2 separate regions of the Homo sapiens genome follow, and region 2 is linked to region 1. The links are contacts of gene promoters, found by promoter capture Hi-C in human tissues and cell types (Jung and others, 2019). All regions are on one chromosome and are shown on one strand. Each heading gives the region's core, a stretch centred on a gene start or on the middle of the fragment in contact. The rest is flanking DNA. Distances are from core to core; before and after follow the strand shown.

Region 1 (5,958 bases), core at 1,150-3,649:
AGAAAGCTGGGACTTACAGAAAGAGGTGGGGAAGCCCGGGGCCTCAGATGGATTGCTGGGGGAAATGGTCACTTGAGAGGGGATGGAAATGGGCCCCGTGCACTGCTACAGGCAAAGGGTAGACGAGGTATCTGGAAATGGCTATGACATCAGCATATGATGGGCGTGGCTTTTCTGTCCTAGAAGTAATTGTGCCAATGCCCTTTGTATGGCACTAAGGAGGGGCCACAGGAAAGGAAAGGAAAGGAAGAGAAAGGAAGGAAGGAAAGAAAGAAGGAAAGGAAGGAAAAGAGAGAAAGAGAAAGAAAGAAGGGAAGGAAGGAAGGAAAGAAAGAAGGAAAGGAAGGAAAAGAGAGAAAGAGAAAGAAAGAAGGGAAGGAAGGAAGGAAAGAAACAAGGAAAAGGATGAAAGAGAGGAAAGAAAGAAAAGATGCATGGCAAGGAGTTCTCATCCAGGTAATCTTAGATTCATTTTTGCCCAGTGACCACACACTCCTCTTGGGCCAAGCAGTGCTCTGGAAAAGTCTCCCACGTGTTCTTTTGGACCTTGAGATTAAAAGAATATCTTTTATATCTCAGGGATAGGGAAGTCCTCTCTAAGTAAGACACAAAACCCCGAAGCAATAAGGAAAAAATTGACAGGTTGAAGATTAAAAACTTCTCATATCCAAAAGATTCCCTAAACTAACTTAGACAAGTGGCAGACAGGGAGAAAACATTTGCAACATACTTAACAAGATCTTTTCTTCAGAGCATGTAAAGAGCTCCTAAAAGTCAAGAAAAAGACAAACACATGGTCAAAGGATATGACTAGAAAATTCACAGGATTCAAATGGCCAAGAAACATACGAAAACAGAAATTTGCACTAAAACAGCAGTGAGTTACACTTTCTTCCTTTGGCTTCCAGAATGCCACAGTAGCCTGGTTTTTCTCCTGCTTCAGGGGCTCCTCCACTTCAAGAGTCTCTATTTGGTTCTTTCTTTCTTTCTTTCTTTTTTTTTGAGATGGAGTCTCACTCTTTTGCCCAGGCTGGAGTGCAGTGGCATGATCTTGGCTCCCTGCAACCTCTGCCTCCCAGGCTCAAGCGATTCTCCTGCCTCAGCCTCCCGAATAGCTGGGACTACAGGTGAGTGCCACCACACTTGGCTAATTTTTTGTATTTTTAGTAGAGACGGAGTTTCACTATATTGGCCAGGCTGGTCTTGAACTCCTGATCTCAAGTGGTCCCGCCTGCTTCGGCCTCCTAAAGTGCTGGGATTACAGACGTGAGCCACTGCACCTGGCCTCTTTCTTGAGCCCTTAACCTTGGAGGACCCAGGGCACTGTCCTTGGTCCTCTTTTCTTCTTTGTCTACACTCACCCACAGCTTCATCCAGCCCCAGGTCCTCAGCCTGTCCCCCTGGGTCACAGCCTTCCCCTCTGCCAATGCTGGAGTTCCCCTTAGTGCTGCCCTAAGAGATTTTTAAAAACACAGCTATACATTCATTGTTTTAAGAGCTTGGCATTTTAATGTTTTGCTGCAGGAGAGGGAGGCTTCAGGGATTCACACTTATGTATATACATGATGTTATTTCTGTAAGTGCAAACACATACATTTATGGCTATATGCATGGAAAAGCCCAGAAAGTGACACACCAAGATGTTATGAGTGTTTATCTATGGGTTGTGGGATTACTAGAACTTTAAAAATGTCATTAGCACCATCAAATAGATTTACAACTGTAATGCTGATTTTAAAAATAACTTAAGTGTGTAACAATAGGTTACATACGCTAGTGTTCATTCATAGCTGGAATGCTACACAATCATTAAAAAGCGTGTTGGCAATGATACTTACCGATATGGCAAAATTCTCACTACTTGATGCCAGGTAAAACAGCAGGAGATGCCAGATATACAGTCTATACAGTCTGATGCCAGTTTTATATAATAAATTTTTAAAAAGAAAACGACATGCATCTAGAGAAAAGACTGGAAGGAAATGTATCAAAATGTTACCTGTGCATCTCTCCAGGTGACGTGAAAAGCGTTTTTCAACTTCTTGAATTTTTCAGGTTCCGCAAAAAAAAAAGTGCGTTATTTTTACCTTAATTAAAAAAAAAAAAAACAAACAAAAACCCTGGTTCTTATTCTTTTTGAGCAGCAAGTCGCTGTCCGCCGGGCGCAGTAGCGATGCACCGCGTCCCCGCCCGCGTCGCTGCCGGGTCGCCGGAGGCCGCAGCACGGGCAGGTCCAGCAGGCCGCAGCGCCCCCCCGCGGTATGTCCCGGCGGCGGGAAGGGGGTGGGCGCGGAGGGCGGGGAGGAGGCGCCGGGCGTCCCCGCGCTTCCCGCGAGATCCCGCTCCGCCCGCTCCGCCCCGCTCGCCGCGCTCCCAGCTCCCCGCGCCGCGGCACTTCCTGCCTTCCGCGCCCGCGCCGCCCGCCCTCGTCTGCGCCCGTCGCCTGCCGCCCGCCGCCCGGCGACGCGCCCGCCGGCGTCCCCGGAGGTGCCCCCGGCCCGGCCGGGTCGTCGCCCCGCCGCCGCGCCCGCGAGCCGCTTTGTCTCGGGCGGGGCGCGCGGGAGAGGCCGCCAGGTGCCCCCCGCCACGGGCCCGGGCCCCCCGCCCCGGGGCGGCGGCGGCGGCGCCGGGCCCCGGGGCGGGGGGCGCGCCGGGATGGGCCCCAAGAGGCGACAGCTGACGTTCCGGGAGAAGTCACGGATCATCCAGGAGGTGGAGGAGAATCCGGACCTGCGCAAGGGCGAGATCGCGCGGCGCTTCAACATCCCGCCGTCCACGCTGAGCACGATCCTGAAGAACAAGCGCGCCATCCTGGCGTCGGAGCGCAAGTACGGGGTGGCCTCCACCTGCCGCAAGACCAACAAGCTGTCTCCCTACGACAAGCTCGAGGGCTTGCTCATCGCCTGGTTCCAGCAGATCCGCGCCGCCGGCCTGCCGGTCAAGGGCATCATCCTCAAGGAGAAGGCGCTGCGCATAGCCGAGGAGCTGGGCATGGACGACTTCACCGCCTCCAACGGCTGGCTGGACCGCTTCCGCCGGCGCCACGGCGTGGTGTCCTGCAGCGGCGTGGCCCGCGCCCGCGCGCGAAACGCTGCCCCCCGCACCCCGGCGGCGCCTGCCAGTCCGGCCGCGGTGCCCTCGGAGGGCAGTGGCGGGAGCACTACTGGTTGGCGCGCTCGGGAGGAGCAGCCGCCGTCGGTGGCCGAGGGCTACGCCTCGCAGGACGTGTTCAGCGCCACCGAGACCAGTCTATGGTACGACTTCCTGCCCGACCAGGCCGCGGGGCTGTGCGGAGGCGACGGACGGCCGCGTCAAGCCACCCAGCGCCTGAGCGTCCTGCTATGCGCCAATGCCGACGGCAGCGAGAAGCTGCCCCCGCTGGTGGCCGGCAAGTCGGCCAAGCCCCGCGCAGGCCAAGCCGGCCTGCCCTGCGACTACACCGCCAACTCCAAGGGTGGTGTCACCACCCAGGCCCTGGCCAAGTACTTGAAGGCCTTGGACACCCGAATGGCTGCAGAGTCTCGCCGGGTCCTGCTGTTGGCCGGCCGCTTGGCTGCCCAGTCCTTGGACACCTCGGGCCTGCGGCATGTGCAGCTGGCCTTCTTCCCTCCCGGCACCGTGCATCCGCTGGAGAGGGGAGTGGTCCAGCAGGTGAAGGGCCACTACCGCCAGGCCATGCTGCTCAAGGCCATGGCCGCGCTAGAGGGCCAGGATCCCTCAGGCCTGCAGCTGGGTCTCACGGAGGCCCTGCACTTTGTGGCTGCCGCCTGGCAGGCAGTGGAGCCTTCGGACATAGCCGCCTGCTTTCGTGAGGCTGGCTTTGGGGGTGGCCCTAATGCCACCATCACCACTTCCCTCAAGAGTGAGGGAGAGGAAGAGGAGGAGGAGGAGGAAGAAGAGGAGGAGGAAGAGGGTGAAGGAGAGGAAGAGGAGGAGGAAGGGGAGGAGGAGGAGGAGGAAGGGGGGGAAGGAGAGGAATTGGGGGAGGAAGAGGAGGTGGAGGAGGAGGGTGATGTTGATAGTGATGAAGAAGAGGAGGAAGATGAGGAGAGCTCCTCGGAGGGCTTGGAGGCTGAGGACTGGGCCCAGGGAGTAGTGGAGGCCGGTGGCAGCTTCGGGGCTTATGGTGCCCAGGAGGAAGCCCAGTGCCCTACTCTGCATTTCCTGGAAGGTGGGGAGGACTCTGATTCAGACAGTGAGGAAGAGGACGATGAGGAAGAGGATGATGAAGATGAAGACGACGATGATGATGAGGAGGATGGTGATGAGGTGCCTGTACCCAGCTTTGGGGAGGCCATGGCTTACTTTGCCATGGTCAAGAGGTACCTGACCTCCTTCCCCATTGATGACCGCGTGCAGAGCCACATCCTCCACTTGGAACACGATCTGGTTCATGTGACCAGGAAGAACCACGCCAGGCAGGCGGGAGTTCGAGGTCTTGGACATCAAAGCTGAGTCACTGGACCTAGCTGTGCCCCCAACCTAGATTGGCAGCACCACCCCAGGGCAGAGGACTCTCTGGGCACCCGCTGTGCATGGAGCCAGAGTGCAGAGCCCCAGATCCTTTAGTAATGCTTCCCCTGGTCCTGCAACAGGCCCGGTCACCTCGGCCGGGCCCGGGGCTGAGGTCAGCCTCACTGCCTGCTTATTGCCTCTTTCTCAGAATCCTCTTTCCTCCCCATTTGGCCCTGGGCTCAGGGGACCAGGTGGGGCGGGTGGGGAGCTGTCCGGTGCTACCACACCGTGCCCTCAGTGGACTAACCACAGCAGCAGCCAGGGATGGGCCCTGGAGGTTCCCGGCCGGAGAGTGCCTCTCCCCTCTGCCATCCACGTCAGGTCTTTGGTGGGGGGACCCCAAAGCCATTCTGGGAAGGGCTCCAGAAGAAGGTCCAGCCTAGGCCCCCTGCAAGGCTGGCAGCCCCCACCCCCACCCCCCAGGCCGCCTTGAGAAGCACAGTTTAACTCACTGCGGGCTCCTGAGCCTGCTTCTGCCTGCTTTCCACCTCCCCAGTCCCTTTCTCTGGCCCTGTCCATGTGACTTTGGCCCTTGGTTTTCTTTCCAGATTGGAGGTTTCCAAGAGGCCCCCCACCGTGGAAGTAACCAAGGGCGCTTCCTTGTGGGCAGCTGCAGGCCCCATGCCTCTCCTCCCTCTCTGGCAGGGCCCCATCCTGGGCAGAGGGGCCTGGGGCTGGGCCCAGAGTCCAGCCGTCCAGCTGCTCCTTTCCCAGTTTGATTTCAATAAATCTGTCCACTCCCCTTTTGTGGGGGTGAACGTTTTAACAGCCAAGGGTGCATCCTTCATGGTCTGGGCTTGCGTCTGTCTTGGGGGACTTATTCGTCCTGGCTCTCTTTGGTCCTTGCTCTGGTGGGACATGGAGGCAAGTGTTGAGAGGGTTGCCCTGACCGGAAGAGGGGCAGGAGGAGACCTCAAGCTTGGGGTCACTTGGCTGGGGCAGGAGGGAGCCATCAGTCTCTGGGGGCAAATCAATATGCACGTGGGGACTAGGCCTACCGAGGCTGGTTTGAAGGCCTTTGCAGGAGTGGGGTCAGGACAGAAAGAAAGGAGTGTTGGGGCAGCTTCTGGGGTCCAGATTGGAGTTTGGAGGGGCATATAGGTCACCCTTTGGTTTACCTTTGGTGCCTTAAGAGGGAGCCCTTTAGGCCTTTCAGTGATTGGCATATCCAAGCCTGGTGGCCACCTCTAGGCACAGTGGCAGGAGGAAGGTGAAATTGCTAGGAACAGGTTGCACCCCCAAGAGGCAGAGGATGGTTGGTAACTCCCTGTGCAGTGCCTTCCAGGGGGCCCCCAGTACAAAGGTGAGGTCAGGTCCCTTTGCTGATCCTACCCTTTTTCCTTTCAGAGCCAGCCCCTCCCTCCCTACCCCTCCTCACTGAGGCCCTCAGGCCCCAGCAGTTCCAACCAAGGGAGGGCCTGGGCTTGAGCATGGCTGGCAGCT
Region 2 (5,859 bases), core at 2,966-5,465, 890 kb before region 1:
ATGGTATATTTATATCTTCACAGACCTCGTTTCTTCCCTGTTTCCACTCTGCCCTACCCAAGCTGGTGTTGACAGCTGTAGCAATTTGAGGCATCACATGGCATAGCACTTCAGACAGAGGAAGAAAACAGCTAATCTGTTTGTATGGTCTTCTCTTAGGCGTTAGGAACATTTTCTCTAAAGATGTGAATCATGAATTTAAGGAGAAACTATTGCACAGTTGCTGCAGAATGGTTCCTGTCTCCCCACCCTTTAAAAGCATTCAATGCTTCCTTAATGGCTAGATTTCAGTGCCTGCAGTTAATGTTTACAGTCAAGGTATCTGTGAAACATTTCCAGTGATGCCTCTTTCTCTCTCTCTCTCTTTCTCTTTGCATTTCCCTGGGCGAAGCCCTGCAGGACCACTTGTCCTCCTTTAATTGCCTTGCTGAAGGTCTGCTTGAGTAGTTCTCTCAGCCCTGAATTTCTTGACCCTGCTTCTCTTCTGTGGAGTTCTGGCTCTGATGCATCCTTTTCTCTGAAATCCTTCCATATCTTCCCATCAGAAGTCAGCCTCCTTCCTTCTAGCTCCAGCAGCAACTGGCTTGTATCATCCAGTCCCATTTTAAACTGCTTTATTATTTAAAAATTTATTATTGGCCTGGTGAAGTGGCTCACGCCTATAGTCCCAGCACTTTGGGAGGCCGAGGCGGGTGGATCACCTAAGGTCAAGAGTTCAAGAACAGCCTGGCCAACATGGTGAAACCCTGTCTCTACTAAAAATACAAAAATTAGCTGGGCGTGGTGGTGCATGCCTGTAGTCCCAGCTACTAAGGAGGCTGAGGCAGGAGAATCGCTTGAACCCAGGAGGCGGAGGTTGCAGTGAGCCAAGATTGTGCCACTGCACTCCAGCCTGGGTGACAGAGCAAGACTCCATCTCAAAAAAAAAAAATTATTATTTAAAGCCCTTTTGGTCTTTAACTGGACTATAAATTCCTTGGGAGATGACTCCTAGTGCTTTGCCCGGGAAAATCAGTTAAATGGTATCCTGAATATGGGGCAACCTCTCCCATCCACTCATATTGCTTTTCTTCCTATTTTCTCCTTGGTGTCTAGAAAAAAATTTCCTTTTCTCTTTCTAGCCATTTCTAACTGTCTAGGCGGGTCTGAGGTATCTCAGTTACCCGAGACAATTTCAGCATCACCTGGAACCTGTGTGGCACTTGGGCCCTCCTCCACTGGACTTCTTCTGCATCACAGCTTTTATGAAATGGTCTGATTTTTTCTGATCTTCTTTGTTCCCACCCTGGGCTTGGCTTCTGACTTTATTTTTCTGGGAACCAGAACCTTCCTGTGTCTTTACTGGCAGTTCCTGAGGCCATGGTAATTTTCTTGTCCCTGATACCAGTGAATGATCCGCAGCTACCCTCATTCAGCCCCTTCCTCGGTGTGTGCCTAAAAGGTTTCTTTTTATGTAGATTCCGCATAAGGCATATCAGTGTGATTCAAATTGACACAACCAAGGGAGGGGATGCCACGTGAGGAGAGGCTTTTCCTTTCTTGCTTTATTAGATCCATGAGGTAGGTAAAGGCTTTATAATGCACTTCAATGCCTGGTAGGACTCATATCACCCATTACTTTCTCTTTGTTTCAGAATATTTTCTGATTTTTTTTTTCTTAGATGGAGTCTCGCTCTGTCACCCAGGCTGGAGTGCAGTGGCACAATCTCACTGCAACCTCCACCTCCTGGGTTCAAGCGATTCTCCTGCCTCAGCCTCCTAACTAGCTGGGATTACAGTCATGCACCACTATGCCTAGCTAATTTTTGTGTTTTTAGTAGAGACTGGGTTTCACCGTATTGCCCAGGCTGGTCTCGAACTCCTGACCTCAAGTGATCTGCCCGCCTCAGCCTCCCAAAGTGCTGGGATTACAGGCATGAGCCACTGTGCCCAGCCCGATATTCTTGCTTATTTCTCTTTCCAGATTAATTTTGTAATCTTGTCAAATTCCATGATACCTATGGTTGGGTTTTTTTATTGAAATGGCATTGCACTTAAGAATAAATTTGTGAAGAATCATCATCTTTATGTAAAATGTATTGCTCCTATATCCAGGAAATAATACAAATGTTTACTCAGTTGGTTTTGTGTACCTCCCAAGAGAGTTGTGGCAGATGCTGTCGATACCTTGTCCTGTGTCCCCTTGGCCCATCTGAGTTCACCTGTAACTAAGGCTTCCAGAATGCTGATGCCTTCCCACCCTGATGCCTGCCTCTCTCTTCTCTGCCTGAGGACTTTTTCTGGCATCATCTGAACTTGCCCTACTCCCCCTAGAAGCACCCCCAAAGTGTGTGGTGTCAGGGGTCCCAGGGCAGTTCTCCCCAGTGGGAGATGGGAGTCTGTGGATAAATGCTCCAACTCCTCACTCTTGCAGCTGGATGACCTGAAGTGTGCTACCACCCTCTATCTCGTAGAATGTTCTGTGGGGGGTGAAGCCCCAGTTGCTCACAGTAGTTGATCCATTACCACACCTGCACATGTGTGGATATTAAAAATGGAAAGAGTTGTAGCACATGAACCTTAGAAGCTGCTGGATTTCTAGGGAAACAAAGGAGTGAAAAGGGTGTTTTCACTTATGCTTGGGGCACTACCTGGCTTGGGGGTGGGAAGTCCCTGGGGCATCCTGAGGCTTCCAGAACCTCCACGGTGGTGACTGTGGGGTGGCCTATGAAGAGGGCCTGGCTCCAGGGGCTCGAGCCTGAGAAAGGGACTTGTTCTTCCTGGATACACATGCAGGAACATACACCTGTATTTCCACAATCCTTGGACAGGCAGACGCTGTTTTGTAGGAAACTGGGTCCTGCATTAGCAGGTGAGGAACCCAGACGTCTCCCGAATCTATCTTCAGTGCCCTAACTTTTTACTCCCAGCTCTTTACTTGGCCTTGGGGGTTGGTTGGGAGTGGGGACAATAAAATAAAGAAGGATTTATAAAGGAAGCATGTTTTATCTTCAACTTTCTTCCCCTATTTCCTCTCATTAAAACTGAATTTGCTTATGCTATCATTACACAGTGGTTATTTCCCACTACATCATGAATGGACCTTGTTGGTGATGAGTTCCTGAAAGTTTGCAGGTAATTCAAGATGTTTTTGAAATAAAAGTGTGAAAATATGTCAAAAGTGTATTAACTTTGTAAATGTACATTATATAAAATGGGCCTCTCCTTAATGAATGTATTTTGTGGGTCCATATTCTCAGATGCTAGGTTTGCAAGGGACATCTTCAAGCAGCTTTCATGTGGCTCCTGGACCTTGGGTAGCTGGGATCCCTCACACAGTGTTCTAGGAGGAGGGCAGTGCATCCTCTTAGGAGGATGTGTTCACACAGAGGGTGAACACTGCCTTCACCCTCCGTGTGATTGTTCTTCATTAGGATGGCAGCATCCTGAGGCCCTCTGAGCCTCCTCCCTCAGCTAGATCTTTGTCTTGTTACTTTGAGTGTTGCCAGCCAGGGTCAGCTTCCAGGCTTGCTGTCCTGACCACACAGTTCTTTCCCTCCAAACCCTTGGTGTTCAAAACACTTACTAATGGCGTGTCACATGTTAAAATTCTAACTCTCTATCAACTTCTATCCTCTATCTTGTTTTCAGCTTTGTTTACTCATCCTGTGGTATTTTCTTGAGAGACTCTATTCTCTATCTTGTTTTCAGCTTTGTTTACTCATCCTGTGGTATTTTCTTGAGAGACACACAAAGATTTTAATGGTTTTCATTTTTCTGATGGACTGTTATTTCTTTGAATCGGACTTTATGGCAAGGCTGACCTGAGAGCAGGGCTGTCTTTAGGTTAAGTTATAATTGCCTGACTGGGACAACAATGGGAAATACCCCCACATTTTTAAATGAGTGACATCTGAACAGAAGTTAATAGCATGTAATGGAAACAAAATCAAATGGCAAAATTAACAACATGAAAGTAAAAATGGTCAGAAGTGATGTCAAAGCTCATACACAGTAGTGTTCTTTTTTTCTTGTTCTTGTTCTTGTTCTTTTATTGAATAAAGCAAATGAGACAAACCAGGATTGGAAATGCTGCCATTTGAAGCAATCTGGAAAGTTACTCTGAAAATTCTGGCTTATACTTGTTCATATTTTGCTTTTGATTTTTCTGCCAGGGAGAAGCATCTTGAGACTGCAAAGGGTAGAATGCGCACTGGGTCAGAGGGAAATGGAAGCTCAAATGGGCTGAGGGAGGAGGCAGAAACTTTCATTTGTGTTAAATGCATTCAGGTCTCCAGGTCTGTTGGATCATATCTTAAGGAAGTAACAATTTGTGCATGACAATGGAGTGTCATACCTGTGGCTCAAGCCTCACACGCAAACCTCTACCTTCTTAGAAATGGTTTGTCTGAGATGACAAAGTATTAACCCTAATCCACAAATAATATAAAATGGTGCTACGGTTTGAATGTGTCCCCTCCAAGATCCAGGCATTGAAACTTTTTTTTTTTAGACGGAGTTTCGCTCTGTTCCCCAGGCTGGAGTGCAGTGGCATGATCTTGTCTCACTGCAACCTCTGCCTCCCGGGTTCAAGTGACTCTCCTGCCTCAGCCCCCCAAGTAGCTGGGATTATAGGCACGTGCCAACACACCCGGCTAATTTTTGTATTTTTTAGTAGAGACAGTGTTTTTGCCATGTTGGCCAGGCTGGTTTCAAACTCCTGACCTCAGGTGATCTGCCCGCCTCAGCCTCCCAAAGTGTTGGGATTACAGGTGTGAGCCACCACACCCGGCCCAGGCATTGAAACTTAATGGCCCATGGGACAGTATTAGGAAGTGGAGGCTTTAAGAGGTGATTCAGTCACAAGGATTCTTTCCTTGTGAATGGGATTCAGGCCCTTTTAAAAGAGGCTTCACACAGCAGCGTCTGGCCCTCTTGCCCTTCTGCCTCGTGCCATGTGAGGACACACTGTTCCTCCCCGCTAGACGATGCAGCATCAAGGTGCCATCTTGGAAGCAAAGAGCAGCCCTCACCAGACACCAAACATGCCAGAGTCTTGATTTTGGACTTCCCAGCCTCCAGGACTGTGAGAAATAAATTTCTGTTCTTTATACATGTGTCTCAACCATTCCAGATGTTGAGGATTTGAATTTATTTCCATAAGTCTCAAAGTCTTTGGTGATGCAGGTGGTGCTGCTGAAATGTTACAAATCAACATGTGGGTTTCTTGTTTGGCTAAAAAATATCTCCGGATTCCAGATGATACAAAGTTGGGGTTAGAGTATTAGGGAGCATCGATAGCAAGATAAAGAAAGCCACTCAGCCTGGCTTGAGTTAAATGAAGTTTGTTATAATAAAGCAACAGATGGCAACCACCACGGAGTGGGCAGCCAGGCCTTGTCAACCTAAATAACAAACATTTTGAAAAGAAAATGATATTTATTTGGGAATAGGCATTGCGATGGAAATGCATGTACTATAATACACTATGTACCTATTCAGGGAGGTAAAGGAAGACAAGGGTTTTTAGAGGAAAAATAAGGAGGGTTACATAACTGTTTTGGGTTAATTATCCTTGACTACAAGGTTCAATAACGAGGGTAGCACCAGTCTGAGGTTGGACAGGCAGTTGCTGGGCAGATGTCCTTGTAGAGGTATTTTTTTGCGTAAGGTTGAGATGGACTTTGTGCAAGGTTGTGATTTTTGCAGTCTTGCAATAGTTTTTGTACATGACAACCCTCTCTTCAAGGTCTCGTCTGGCTCTGTTTGTTGGGATTTTTAACATAGGTGACTTCATTTTGATTCTGAGAGCTTTCACAGCCTCATGTCGCAGTATTTAAAACACTTGCTCCCCACTCTCTCCTCCTTTTATAGGATCAT

What was found. The method cuts DNA at HindIII sites, captures the fragments that hold promoters and counts their contacts. A contact is called where the count stands out against the background at its distance.
Region 2: a fragment that was not itself captured here is called in contact with the fragment with the promoter of CENPB in region 1 in 1 of the 25 tissues and cell types used here (lymphoblastoid cells).

Annotation. Positions count from the first base shown.
Region 1 is chr20:3,783,181-3,789,138 of GRCh38, reverse strand. It overlaps CENPB (centromere protein B), which reads left to right and starts at 2,399. Exons shown (of 1, transcript NM_001810.6): 1 at 2,399-5,288. The coding sequence starts at 2,656. The coding sequence ends at 4,455. It also overlaps a transcript of CDC25B not described here. RefSeq lists a silencer at 2,098-2,447 and enhancers at 2,283-2,992, 2,888-3,027, 2,993-3,703. The HindIII fragment of the contact is 8,329 bases long and covers 1-2,672 here.
Region 2 is chr20:4,675,791-4,681,649 of GRCh38, reverse strand. No RefSeq gene overlaps it. Among named protein-coding and RNA genes, the nearest start is that of PRNP, 7.7 kb to the left of the region's middle. The HindIII fragment of the contact is 5,211 bases long and covers 1,610-5,859 here.